2 separate regions of the Homo sapiens genome follow, and region 2 is linked to region 1. Evidence: promoter capture Hi-C in human tissues and cell types (Jung and others, 2019). All regions are on one chromosome and are shown on one strand. The core of a region is centred on a gene start or on the middle of the fragment in contact, and the rest is flanking DNA. Distances in the headings are between cores, read along the strand shown.

Evidence for each region. Contacts are between HindIII fragments. The study calls those that stand out against the background at their distance.
Region 2: a contact is called between a fragment that was not itself captured here and the fragment with the promoter of MYOD1 in region 1, in 2 of the 25 tissues and cell types used here (H1 embryonic stem cells and pancreas).

The regions. Positions count from the first base shown.
Region 1 is chr11:17,715,885-17,721,701 of GRCh38, forward strand. MYOD1 (myogenic differentiation 1) reads left to right here and starts at 3,687. Exons shown (of 3, transcript NM_002478.5): 1 at 3,687-4,528; 2 at 5,018-5,096; 3 at 5,371-5,817. The coding sequence starts at 3,899. The coding sequence ends at 5,624. RefSeq lists enhancers at 4,636-5,147, 5,148-5,659. The HindIII fragment of the contact is 9,376 bases long and covers 1,217-5,817 here.
Region 2 is chr11:17,648,695-17,654,511 of GRCh38, forward strand. No RefSeq gene overlaps it. Among named protein-coding and RNA genes, the nearest start is that of LINC02729, 45 kb to the right of the region's middle. RefSeq lists an enhancer at 1,768-2,268. The HindIII fragment of the contact is 3,454 bases long and covers 477-3,930 here.

The DNA.
Region 1 (5,817 bases), core at 2,437-4,936:
TGTATAATGCCCAGTTCAAGAGAACATGCCCCAGGCAGATGGGGTCTGAGCCTTTCCTGGGAAGAGCAAGTGTAATAGAACATGGATGTCTAATCATGTATGTGACTTCCCAGTTTTGAAGAAATTCAACCATCTTCATTAATGTCACAGTTCAAGACATTCAAATATATGCATAGAGATGCAAAGGGCGTGAGGCCACTCATTCATTCACTGGACATTTATCAGGTGCCTACTGTGTGACTGCCACTGTGATGGTTTTTGGAAATGTCATTGTGAACAAAACATCTTTGCCTTCATGGGGCTAAGTCAGTCATGAACAAACTAATGAAGAAGATTATAAAGAGTGGCAGTGCCTGGAAGGAAATTAACAGGGTGGTGTGAACCAGAGTATGGGGGGCAGTTATCTTAGAGGGAATGGTCAGTGATGTCCCAAGGAGGCAAGAAGATCTATTATATAAAATGCAGTCAATCTTGGGAAAAGCCCAGGGGATAATGCTATGAGTTTAGAGCAGCAAGGACAAGGCTCCAAGGCAGGATCCTGTTCAGAGTGTTAGAAGACAAGAAAGGAGGTCAGGCTAACTGGAGTAGAGCAATCAAAACGGATGGTGCCTCCAGGTGTAGTAAGAGACACAGGCTGAGGCTAGCTCATGCAGGGCCTGATAGGCCAGGGGATGGAGATGAGATTTTACTCTAAATGCAAGAAGCTGCTGGGGAGTTTGAAGCAGGAGGATGGCATAATCCCATTTACATTGTAAAGGTCTACTCAGGCTGCTATGTAACGAATGGATTATACTGAGGCTACAGAGGAAGTGAGGAGGGCAGCCAGGTTATTGTGGTCATCCAGAGCAGCAGTGTGACAGCTTAGTCCAGGATGGTGACACTAGGGATGGACTGACTTGAGACAGGTCTTAGAGGTAGAATGGACAGCTCTTCCTCATACTCAGACCTCTCCTTGGGAACTCCAGCCTTAAAAATCCCCCTGCCTAATCCACACTTCCATCTGGATATCCGATATGCATTTCAAATTTTGCCCAAACCTGGACACTTAATCTACCACCCACAAACCTAGTCTTCTCAACTCCATTCTTGCAGGAGTCATCCTTAGCTCCTTGCTTATCTCACTTCCCACATGCAATCGTGAGTAAATACTGCTAGCTCCATCTTGAAAACATATATCTAGAATTCAACCACCACTTTTCACCAGCTCCACTCACTGGGATTATTGCAATAGCCTCCTAATTGGTCTCCCTCCTTCTGCCCTTTCCCTCCAGTAACCAGCATGCTCCTGTTAAAATGTAAATCAGATAGTGATATTCTTCTCTTCCGCTCAAGCCCTCCAGTGAGATGGCTCAAGCCATCTCAGAATATAATCCTGTTTCTCTCTCTCTCACCCCATTTCCCACTATCTCTTTTACTCACCCTGCTGCAGACATATGAGCCTCCTTGCCATACTTTGAATCTGCCAAACATGGTCCTGCCTCAGGACTTTTGCACATGCTTATCCCTCTATCTGGCCCTACATATCTCCAGGTATCTGCTTCCAATTCTCTTCATTCAGGTCTCTGCTTAAATGTAGCAGAGAGGCCTTCTCTAATCACTCCATAATCTTCATCACTGTGTCTCCCTGCCTTGCTTTTTCTTCATAAGGCTTCTAACCTCCTGGCATCACATACTTCCTTGCTTATTTGTTCATTGTCTATCACCCTGCTTACATTGACAATGTAAGTGCCATGTAAGCAGAGTCTTGGTTTTGTTCATTGCTCTAGCCCCACACTTGGACTGGTACCTGCCACATAATGGATACCTAACAATATGTGGATTTCCGGGTGACCCCCTGCAGCTTGGGTGGGGTGAGGCCAGGACTTTGCTGCCTCTGCCAGGATTTAGAGTTACTGTCACTGCTGCTCCATGATGTAGACTTTACTGAATGAACAAATACAGGTGGGCCCTATGGAGTAAAGCGAGGTGAGTACTTCATGAAGGGAGACCTTCAGCACCACTACCAGCAGCAGAGAAGTGAAGAAGTTAGGACCCCAACAGAGCCCTCTGAGTTTTGTGGGAAGGGAGGACTTCTTAGGGCCCAGAACGGCCAGCTAGAATGCCTTCCAGAAGTTAGTGGGAAAGGCACAAAGATCACTCCTGCTTAAATTTCTGGTTTCCAGGAGGGGAGATCCAGGCAGGGATGTATGGCCAACGGAGATTCCTAGCCAGAGTGCTGAGAGGACTGTGTGAACTGCAGATTCAGGAAGAGGCTGAGAGACCCCCATGGGGGTGGCCGGTATGCTGAGGCTTGTATGGGAGCCAGATATCCCACATCCCATGGGGTGGTTGCCTCCTCCTGTTTCCAGCCTTTCCAGTGAGGCTGCAGGAAAGAGACACAGCTAAGGCCTGGAGACTCGTGGCACTCCGTCAGGGCATGGTACCACAGATGAGTTGTAAGCCTGCGGGACACAGCATCCAACTCTGAAAGCCCCTTGCTCGAATAACCCTACATCACCGCCTGAGGGCTTCCATATCCTTGGTCTCTTCAGACTGTCATCCCCACCACAATTACTCCAAGAAATTACTGTCATCCCCAAATCTATAACTGGAAACTGAGGCTCAGGAAGGAGACATGACTTCCACAAAATCACACAGTTGGGAAACTCTGGAGTCTGCACTCAACTGGTCTGCAAACCGCACTCTCGGAGACTTCAGGTGAGATGAGGTCAGGTTCTCAGGCCAGGTCCTGAAGTTTGACACCTTGGCGAAATGCACTTTCCTTGACTCAGCACCGCGAGTGAGGCGGAGCCAAGCCCCGAGCAGAAGGGTTTTCTTCCCAGCTGAAGAGGCAGCTCAGCCTAGACCCCAGGCATGGCACTGGACACCCCTGCTGTGGAAACGTGCAGATTTAGATGGAGGGGATTCCTAACCTGGGCAGGATCCGAGTTTGGAGAGATTGGCGCGAAGCTTTAGCAGCAATCTCCGATTCCTGTACAACCATAGCTGGGTTTCTAAGCGTCTAGGGAAGAAGGACTGGGCCCACGACCTGCTGAGCAACTCCCAGGTCGGGGACTGGCGGAATATCAGAGCCTCTACGACCCGTTTGTCTCGGGCTCGCCCACTTCAACTCTCGGGGTCTCTCCGCCTGTTGTTGCACTCGTGCGTTTCTCTGCCCCTGACGCTCTAAGCTTTCTGCTTTCTGCGTGTCTCTCAGCCTCTTTCGGTCCCTCTTTCACGGTCTCACTCCTCAGCTCTGTGCCCCCAATGCCTTGCCTCTCTCCAAATCTCTCACGACCTGATTTCTACAGCCGCTCTACCCATGGGTCCCCCACAAATCAGGGGACAGAGGAGTATTGAAAGTCAGCTCAGAGGTGAGCGCGCGCAGCCAGCGTTTCCCGCGGATACAGCAGTCGGGTGTTGGAGAGGTTTGGAAAGGGCGTGCCGGAGAGCCAAGTGCAGCCGCCTAGGGCTGCCGGTCGCTCCCTCCCTCCCTGCCCGGTAGGGGACCTAGCGCGCACGCCAGTGTGGAGGGGCGGGCTGGCTGGCCAGTCTGCGGGCCCCTGCGGCCACCCCGGGGACCCCCCCAAGCCCCGCCCCGCAGTGTTCCTATTGGCCTCGGACTCCCCCTCCCCCAGCTGCCCGCCTGGGCTCCGGGGCGTTTAGGCTACTACGGATAAATAGCCCAGGGCGCCTGGCGAGAAGCTAGGGGTGAGGAAGCCCTGGGGCGCTGCCGCCGCTTTCCTTAACCACAAATCAGGCCGGACAGGAGAGGGAGGGGTGGGGGACAGTGGGTGGGCATTCAGACTGCCAGCACTTTGCTATCTACAGCCGGGGCTCCCGAGCGGCAGAAAGTTCCGGCCACTCTCTGCCGCTTGGGTTGGGCGAAGCCAGGACCGTGCCGCGCCACCGCCAGGATATGGAGCTACTGTCGCCACCGCTCCGCGACGTAGACCTGACGGCCCCCGACGGCTCTCTCTGCTCCTTTGCCACAACGGACGACTTCTATGACGACCCGTGTTTCGACTCCCCGGACCTGCGCTTCTTCGAAGACCTGGACCCGCGCCTGATGCACGTGGGCGCGCTCCTGAAACCCGAAGAGCACTCGCACTTCCCCGCGGCGGTGCACCCGGCCCCGGGCGCACGTGAGGACGAGCATGTGCGCGCGCCCAGCGGGCACCACCAGGCGGGCCGCTGCCTACTGTGGGCCTGCAAGGCGTGCAAGCGCAAGACCACCAACGCCGACCGCCGCAAGGCCGCCACCATGCGCGAGCGGCGCCGCCTGAGCAAAGTAAATGAGGCCTTTGAGACACTCAAGCGCTGCACGTCGAGCAATCCAAACCAGCGGTTGCCCAAGGTGGAGATCCTGCGCAACGCCATCCGCTATATCGAGGGCCTGCAGGCTCTGCTGCGCGACCAGGACGCCGCGCCCCCTGGCGCCGCAGCCGCCTTCTATGCGCCGGGCCCGCTGCCCCCGGGCCGCGGCGGCGAGCACTACAGCGGCGACTCCGACGCGTCCAGCCCGCGCTCCAACTGCTCCGACGGCATGGTAAGGCCGGGACCCCAGGAAGTGAGGAAGTTAGGGCGGCGCTCGGGATATCAGGGACGCGTTTCCGAGGGCGGGGAGCTGGCCTTGCGGGAGGTTTGGGCCAGGATCCTTCCCGAGAGAGAGGACCCCCTTGTCCTGGGCAGCTGTCACTGGGGTAGCCTGTTTTGGAAGTGTGCGGGCAAGCGTTCGAGCTGCCCCATTGGGGGCGCTATTAGAACACTGCAGCGCGAACGTGAAGATCTTTTTCTCTACTTATCCCTACTTCCAAAATGTAAATTTGCGCCCCTTGGTGACTGTCCGCCCTTGGTTTGGCCCTGCATGTTGCAGACCTCATCTCCTACCCACCCGTAATTACCCCCCCAACCAGGACAGGTCTGGGCCCGGAACTAGAGCCTTAGGCTAGAGTTAGGGAGGGGGCGGCTACAGGAATTGGTGTTCGGGCCTCGAGCCGTCCCGCGGGCCTGACTCAGTCGCCCTTGCTGTTTGCAGATGGACTACAGCGGCCCCCCGAGCGGCGCCCGGCGGCGGAACTGCTACGAAGGCGCCTACTACAACGAGGCGCCCAGCGGTGGGTATTCCGGGCCTCTCCCTGCTCGCTCCTCCTCCTTCATGGAGCTGTCCTGGCCTCTATCTAGGACGCTCCCACCCCCACTCACACACGCCTATGTCCTGGGAAGTGGTGCAGGAGATGAAATACTAAGCAAGTAGCTCCCTGTCTTTTGGATTGTCCCGGACTCTAACTAAAGTCCTCAGTTTCCAATCTGTCTCAAAGTACTGGGCCCGGGGGTGGGAGGCTTGTCGCGGCCCCACCCCTGCTTACTAACCGAGCCCTCCCCGCGCAGAACCCAGGCCCGGGAAGAGTGCGGCGGTGTCGAGCCTAGACTGCCTGTCCAGCATCGTGGAGCGCATCTCCACCGAGAGCCCTGCGGCGCCCGCCCTCCTGCTGGCGGACGTGCCTTCTGAGTCGCCTCCGCGCAGGCAAGAGGCTGCCGCCCCCAGCGAGGGAGAGAGCAGCGGCGACCCCACCCAGTCACCGGACGCCGCCCCGCAGTGCCCTGCGGGTGCGAACCCCAACCCGATATACCAGGTGCTCTGAGGGGATGGTGGCCGCCCACCCGCCCGAGGGATGGTGCCCCTAGGGTCCCTCGCGCCCAAAAGATTGAACTTAAATGCCCCCCTCCCAACAGCGCTTTAAAAGCGACCTCTCTTGAGGTAGGAGAGGCGGGAGAACTGAAGTTTCCGCCCCCGCCCCACAGGGCAAGGACACAGCGCGGTTTTTTCCACGCAGC
Region 2 (5,817 bases), core at 954-3,453, 69 kb before region 1:
GCTCCAGGCTTTCAGACACCTGTTCCCCACATCTGACCCATTGTTGGTGACACAGTTTCAGTAGCCTGGCCCTCCTTGGCTCCAGTTGGCAGCAGTTCTCCAGCCCTCCTGCTGTACTCCCACTGTGTCCTCTCAGATGGCCATAGCTCCTGGTGATCACACCCTACTGTGGGAGTCCCAGCATGCCTGGATGTTCCCCCCGGCCACCTCACCTCCACTCCCGCTCAGACAACCCCCCCGCCTACTCCTACTGGAAGCCAACTTCTCACTCTAAATTTTTGGTCAAAATTCCCAGTTCTATTTTCCTAGATCCCTCCTGAAGATACTGACTTTTTTTTCTTTCAGGGTAAGACAATTTAGTGAAAGATTAATGAGAGGAAAATCTCCAACCCTGTCTTGCAATGTAGGGAAGGCAGGAAACAGTGAAGACTTTGAACCTTAATTAGTGTTGTCCATTGCCCTCCAAAAAGCCAGTGCCAGCAGTGTTAATGCGAGTGTTCATATCAAATAGATACAATTTGTAGATGGTGATTTAAATGTAAAATACACATCTCCTTTAACTAAGTCATCCTATTTCTAGGTAGCTATGGAAGGCTGAATAGTGGTCCTCCAAAGATGTACAAGTCCTAATTTCTGGATCTTGCGAATATTTATATTACATTACATGGTAAAAGGGACTCTGCAGACGTGATTAAGGATCTTGAGATAAGAGGATTATCCTGGGTCATCCAGGTGGGCCCGGTGTAATCACAAGCGTCCTTATATAAGAGAGGCAGCCAGGTCAGAGTCAGAGAGAGGAGACGGGATGACAGAAGCGAGGTTGGAGTGATGTACTTTGAAGTTAGTGTAAGGGGCCACTGGTCAAGAAATCCAGGCAGCCTCTGGAAGCTGGAAAATCAAGGAACTGGATTCTCTCCTAGAGCCCCCAGAAGGAACACAGGCTGGCTGGCCCCTTGATTTTAGCTTAGTGAAGCTGATTTCATACTTCTGACCTCTACAACTGTAAGAGAATAAATGTGTGTGTTTTAAGCCACTAAATGTGTGGCAATTTGTTACAGGAGCAATAGGAAACAGATAGCATCAAAAGAAAGAATTCCTGCAGAGGCATGCGCCAGGATGTTTATTGCGGCATTGTCCTGAGTGTTAAAAATTAGTAACAACTGCAAATGCCTGTCAGTAGGGAAGGATTAAGCAACCTGGTACAGCCACACTCGTGAATATTATGTAGCCCTTTTGGGTACTGACATGCTGAGCTCTCCAGGATATGTTAAATGATGACAGGAAATTGTGGGTTGTTTCACACAGAATGATCCCTCCTTTATGCACCTGTGTGGGTAATACACACACACATACAACACAACACAACACACACACACACACACACACACGTCTCATTCCCTTGAAGAGTTTTCAAGATTGAGGAAGGTCCTTCCTGGCTGTTGAGCCACCAACTAGTTCAGTGGCAACTTTGGTCCTAGAATAGCCTTTTCAGATCCCAGGAGATCATCAGAAGAGACTAGAATAGACTGAAGGCCCTAGGGACATCTGTGGCATCTCCCCCATTCCTGTTTCCTCCCACACTCTGTGCATTACTTAAAGCTTGAGGCAACTCCAGTGGCCACACACAGCTGAGGAAACAGAAAGCCAGGACCAGCAGAGCCACTGAGAGATTGGTGGCCGAGCAGGGTGGCTGCCCAGCTTGCAGCCCCCTGTGACGTATTTGCAAACACGAGGAGTTTTGAGCTGCAGAACCATCCCATTCTCCGTGGTGCAGGCTCAAGTTCCCGCCCTGATTTTCTGGGCTTAATCCTCTTCCTGTGGAAATCAATAAGGACATTGTGATGGAATGATTCACGTTCAAGGTCAGGCCGGAGCAAATTGGAGGCGACATGCTGATTTTACTACCCTCACTGTGAGGAGAGCCAATCCTGCTCACAGACCCCCTTAACCCTTTCCTTGTCACTGTGGTAAGCACTGTCTGCACAGGCCCCCTCCCCAGGCCCAGATCCCCCTGGCCTCACCCACGTGTGGCGCTTTTGTTTACATTTTCCCAAGCCTCTGACCACACAAGGCCTTGGAGTCTTGCACACTTGTCATGGTGGTTTGGGGAAGGCAGACGACAGGTTCAGGAACAGCTTCAAATTGGAAGTCAAACGCTACATATCTAACTTCAGCTTCATGGGTAACATCCTGTTCCTCTCCCTTCACCAGAGCTGTTCCCCTTCCAACCCTCTTTTCTGAGTTCCAGACCCCTCTTCCCTGCTTTTCTGGGTTGTCCCACATGGGGAGGTAGAGGAGAGGGGACCAAATTCCTCATTTATTTTTTTCACACACAGCAAGGCTCAAACATGATAGAAGCTTATTCCTTCCTCCTATTTAAAAAAAACACTCAAAATAAGTAGGTAGCTAGAGCTTTGTGTCCAGAATGATTTAGGGATCCTGGCTCCTCTGTCTTGAGGTTCTACCACCTTCAGCACGGGCCTCCCAGAGTCTCTGTGATCTCAGGCATCAGCCAGCCGAGGTGCAGGGAGAGCATGTGCGGGAAGCTTGCAGGGCCCAGGACTGAAAGTGGCTCACTCCCTTCCACTCGGATTCCACTGGCCTGAACTGGCCACATCTCAGTGCAAGAAAGGCTGGGGAACGTAGTCCAGCTGTGTGCCCAGGAAGATGGGTCTGGTGGGCAGTGCTGTCTCTGTGAGGAAGCGGAGAGAGTGAGGAGGACAATGCTAGAAAGTGTGACTGGAAAAGAAGAGATAGAGCATGAGTTAGGGGAGGACTTGAGGTAGGCAGTGATTTGACTGTATGCCCTGGAGAAGCCAGTGGAAACAGAAAAGCTTTGCTGTGGAGAAAAGTCAGGGTCTCAGAGGGCCATAGCTGGCATGAGGAGGGACAGTGATGACACAGATACCTCTGGCTGGGCAGACCCCACCTTAGGTCTTTCTTTATCTCTGTTTCCAACATGGAACACTGAGGACACTGGAGAATAAGTGTGAACATACCTCTAAGCTTGAAGGTGAGGAGCCCAGACAACAAAGAGTTAAAGGGTGCAGGGGTGGGCAGAACCGGGGAGCCAGGTGCTCCCTAACATACTGTGCGGTGCCAGTTAATCCCCTGCAGCAGGCAGGAGGCCTGCACAGCTGTCTCTCCCGAGCTGGGATTGCATGCTTCCCCCTCCCTCTGCCACCTCCCTGATGCCCCCGGCCCCTTGCCCAGAGAACACAGCACCCCAGGGATTGGGTGGGGGTGGGTGGAGATGGGCAGGCAGCATGCTGGGTAACTGGTCCAGCCCCTGAACCCTTGGACAACTCTTTCTCTAGAGATAAACCATTCTCTAGGCTTGTTTCTCACTGGCCATGAAGACCGTACCTCTCCCAAGCCAGCCAAACCCAAACCTTATAGCTGGTCCTCCTACACAGTGTCCATTCCTGCCTCTGTGTCTTTGCCTCACCTGGAGTGTCCTTTTCCTCCTCTCCCTCGACAGTCCCTGCCTAGCCTGCAGAGCAGCTACAACACAGCAGCACCTAGGAGCCCTCCCTTTGGCCTCTAGCCCCCCAGCCCTAGTTTCTGCTTGACTGGGGCTTCCCATGCCAGCCTGTGCCTGTGCTCTGCCCAGGGAGGGGAGATGCAGGTCTGGCTCCAGCAGTCATTCATTTATTCCCACGACATCTTCATTCATAACAGATGAGGCTGCTAAGGCTCAGAGAGGGTAAGTGACTTGCACAGCTTGAGAGTGGAGGAATTAGGACTCAAGCTCACAACTGTTTAACTCCAGAGCCCACACTCACACTTTCTTTCTCAGCCCAGAAAGAGACTAAGAAGATTGCTGGGTGCCTGGGAGCTCTTCCTCCCTGTTACTCCAGGCTCCTTCTTCCTGGAAGCCAGAGGGAGCAGTGGAAAGAAGGTTCTAGTTTCTCTTTGGCCAGTTAGCAGTTGTAGAACATTGGCAAATTTTAAGCCTCAGTTCCCCATGGTGAGGAGAAGCAATAGGTTCTGCGACAGAGTTGGCAAGAGGGTCAAGTGAGATCATGGATGGGAAAGGGCTGGACAACTGCAGAGGCTGTGCTCATATGTGAGGCTGCTGGGCTGAGCCAGGGAATCCCAGCCCAGCTGGGACCAGAGCAAGAGAAAAGCAGGCTCAAAGAGCCGGACTCAGTCCCAGCCCACCCTCCATCCAGCAGACTCAGGGCTCACTGCTAAGCCTTTGCCTCTGTGTGCCCTATCCAGCTATGCCATCTTGCCTCTGTTCCACTGAACCAGATCACCATTTACGGATCCTTGGAGCTGATCTTCGGGATCTAGTAAAGGGCCTAGATTGTGGGGTAGGTTCTATCTCTGAACAGCTGTATGATTTACACTCTCCAAGTCTCAGTTTCCTCATCACCAAAATGGAAATGAGAGTCTGGCAAAGTGATGGTGAGAATGTTTATAGATAGAGTCCTGGCCTATGGTAGGCATTTAATAAATGGAGCTATTGTTTCCACTATGAACCTTCTTTCCTAAACCTTTAGGAATATCTTTAAACTCCTCCTTTTCAGGATTAGGAAACTGATCCCAGGGAATGACAGTGACTCACCCAGAGTCTCACTGCAAAGTGAGCAATGGTGGAGGCAGCGCCAGACTCCAAACCGAGTGCCCATTCCATTGCCTCTGCCAGAGAATCTTCCCTGAGCTCCAACCTAGGGTGGGCCTCCCTGTGCTGACCTTACAGCCTCTACTATCTGAGTCGCCCACTAGGCCTTCCAAAAGCCCTGTCTCTATCTGAGACAGGAAGTTCCCAGGTAGGACCCAAGCCCCCCAGCAGAAACTATCACCTAGCTGGATCCTTTTCAAGGTGTAGATACCCAGCTAGGGAAGCTTATTTCTCAAGGGGTTTCCCGGGACTTGGCTAAGCTGGGTGACATCAACTTCCCAATGGAGGGGAGAAAGAAATAAGAGAGGGAAGGGTTAAGGCTCAGCAGCTGGGACAGGCAGCCTGCAGACGGCCCAGCCCAGTGCTGGGGGGCCTGCACCATTCCATTCCTTTGCAGATCAGTTACACCCAGCTGTCTCCCTCCCCACTGCCAGCACCCCTCGGATTAGGCGGGAAAGGCTCCCCGGCCTGCGGCCTGCACACGGCCCATGGGGAACAGCGCCTGCAGCCCACGCCTCCACGACAGCTGCTGAGTGTCAGGCAAGAACATAGATCAGTGGGATCCTGGCAGAGGTGCCCTAAGCCCAAGCCCTGCCCCCAGCATGTGCAGGAGGGGCTGCCCGAGAAGAAAGGGGGTCTGTGAGGGATTTGGGAGGTACAGGGCAGAAATTGCTCCCAAAAATATCTCCTCTGCCCATGTGTCACTGTGCCTCAAATTCCACCATTAAACATCTTAAAAGTTTGGGGCTTCCAGAGACACCAATTAAAAACTACACCCCATGGAGTAGCTGGCATTTTGATGCACTGTTGATAGGAATGTATTTGTAAAATTTATGAACATTTAATTTTATTTTACAAAGTATATATGAAGTCCCTCAAAAATATCTTTTCCTTTTTCTCAGTTGTCCCACTGAGGGCTTTAACTTAAAGAGGAACTTAACTTAAGGACATAGTTTATAATATGGAAAGAATGTGGGCTGGAGTCTTAAGATTAAGAGAAAACACAAACTAAGGTCATGAATACTCTCAAAATACTCACAAAAGCCAGATGAAAAAAACAAAAGAAATTTTAACACTAGAAAATATCTGTGCCTGTACCGGAAAACATGAAACAGTTCCACCAATAGGTCAGAAATAGGAAATTTCTTGAAGTTATAAAGCAAATGGGAGGCAGCATAGTGTATAGG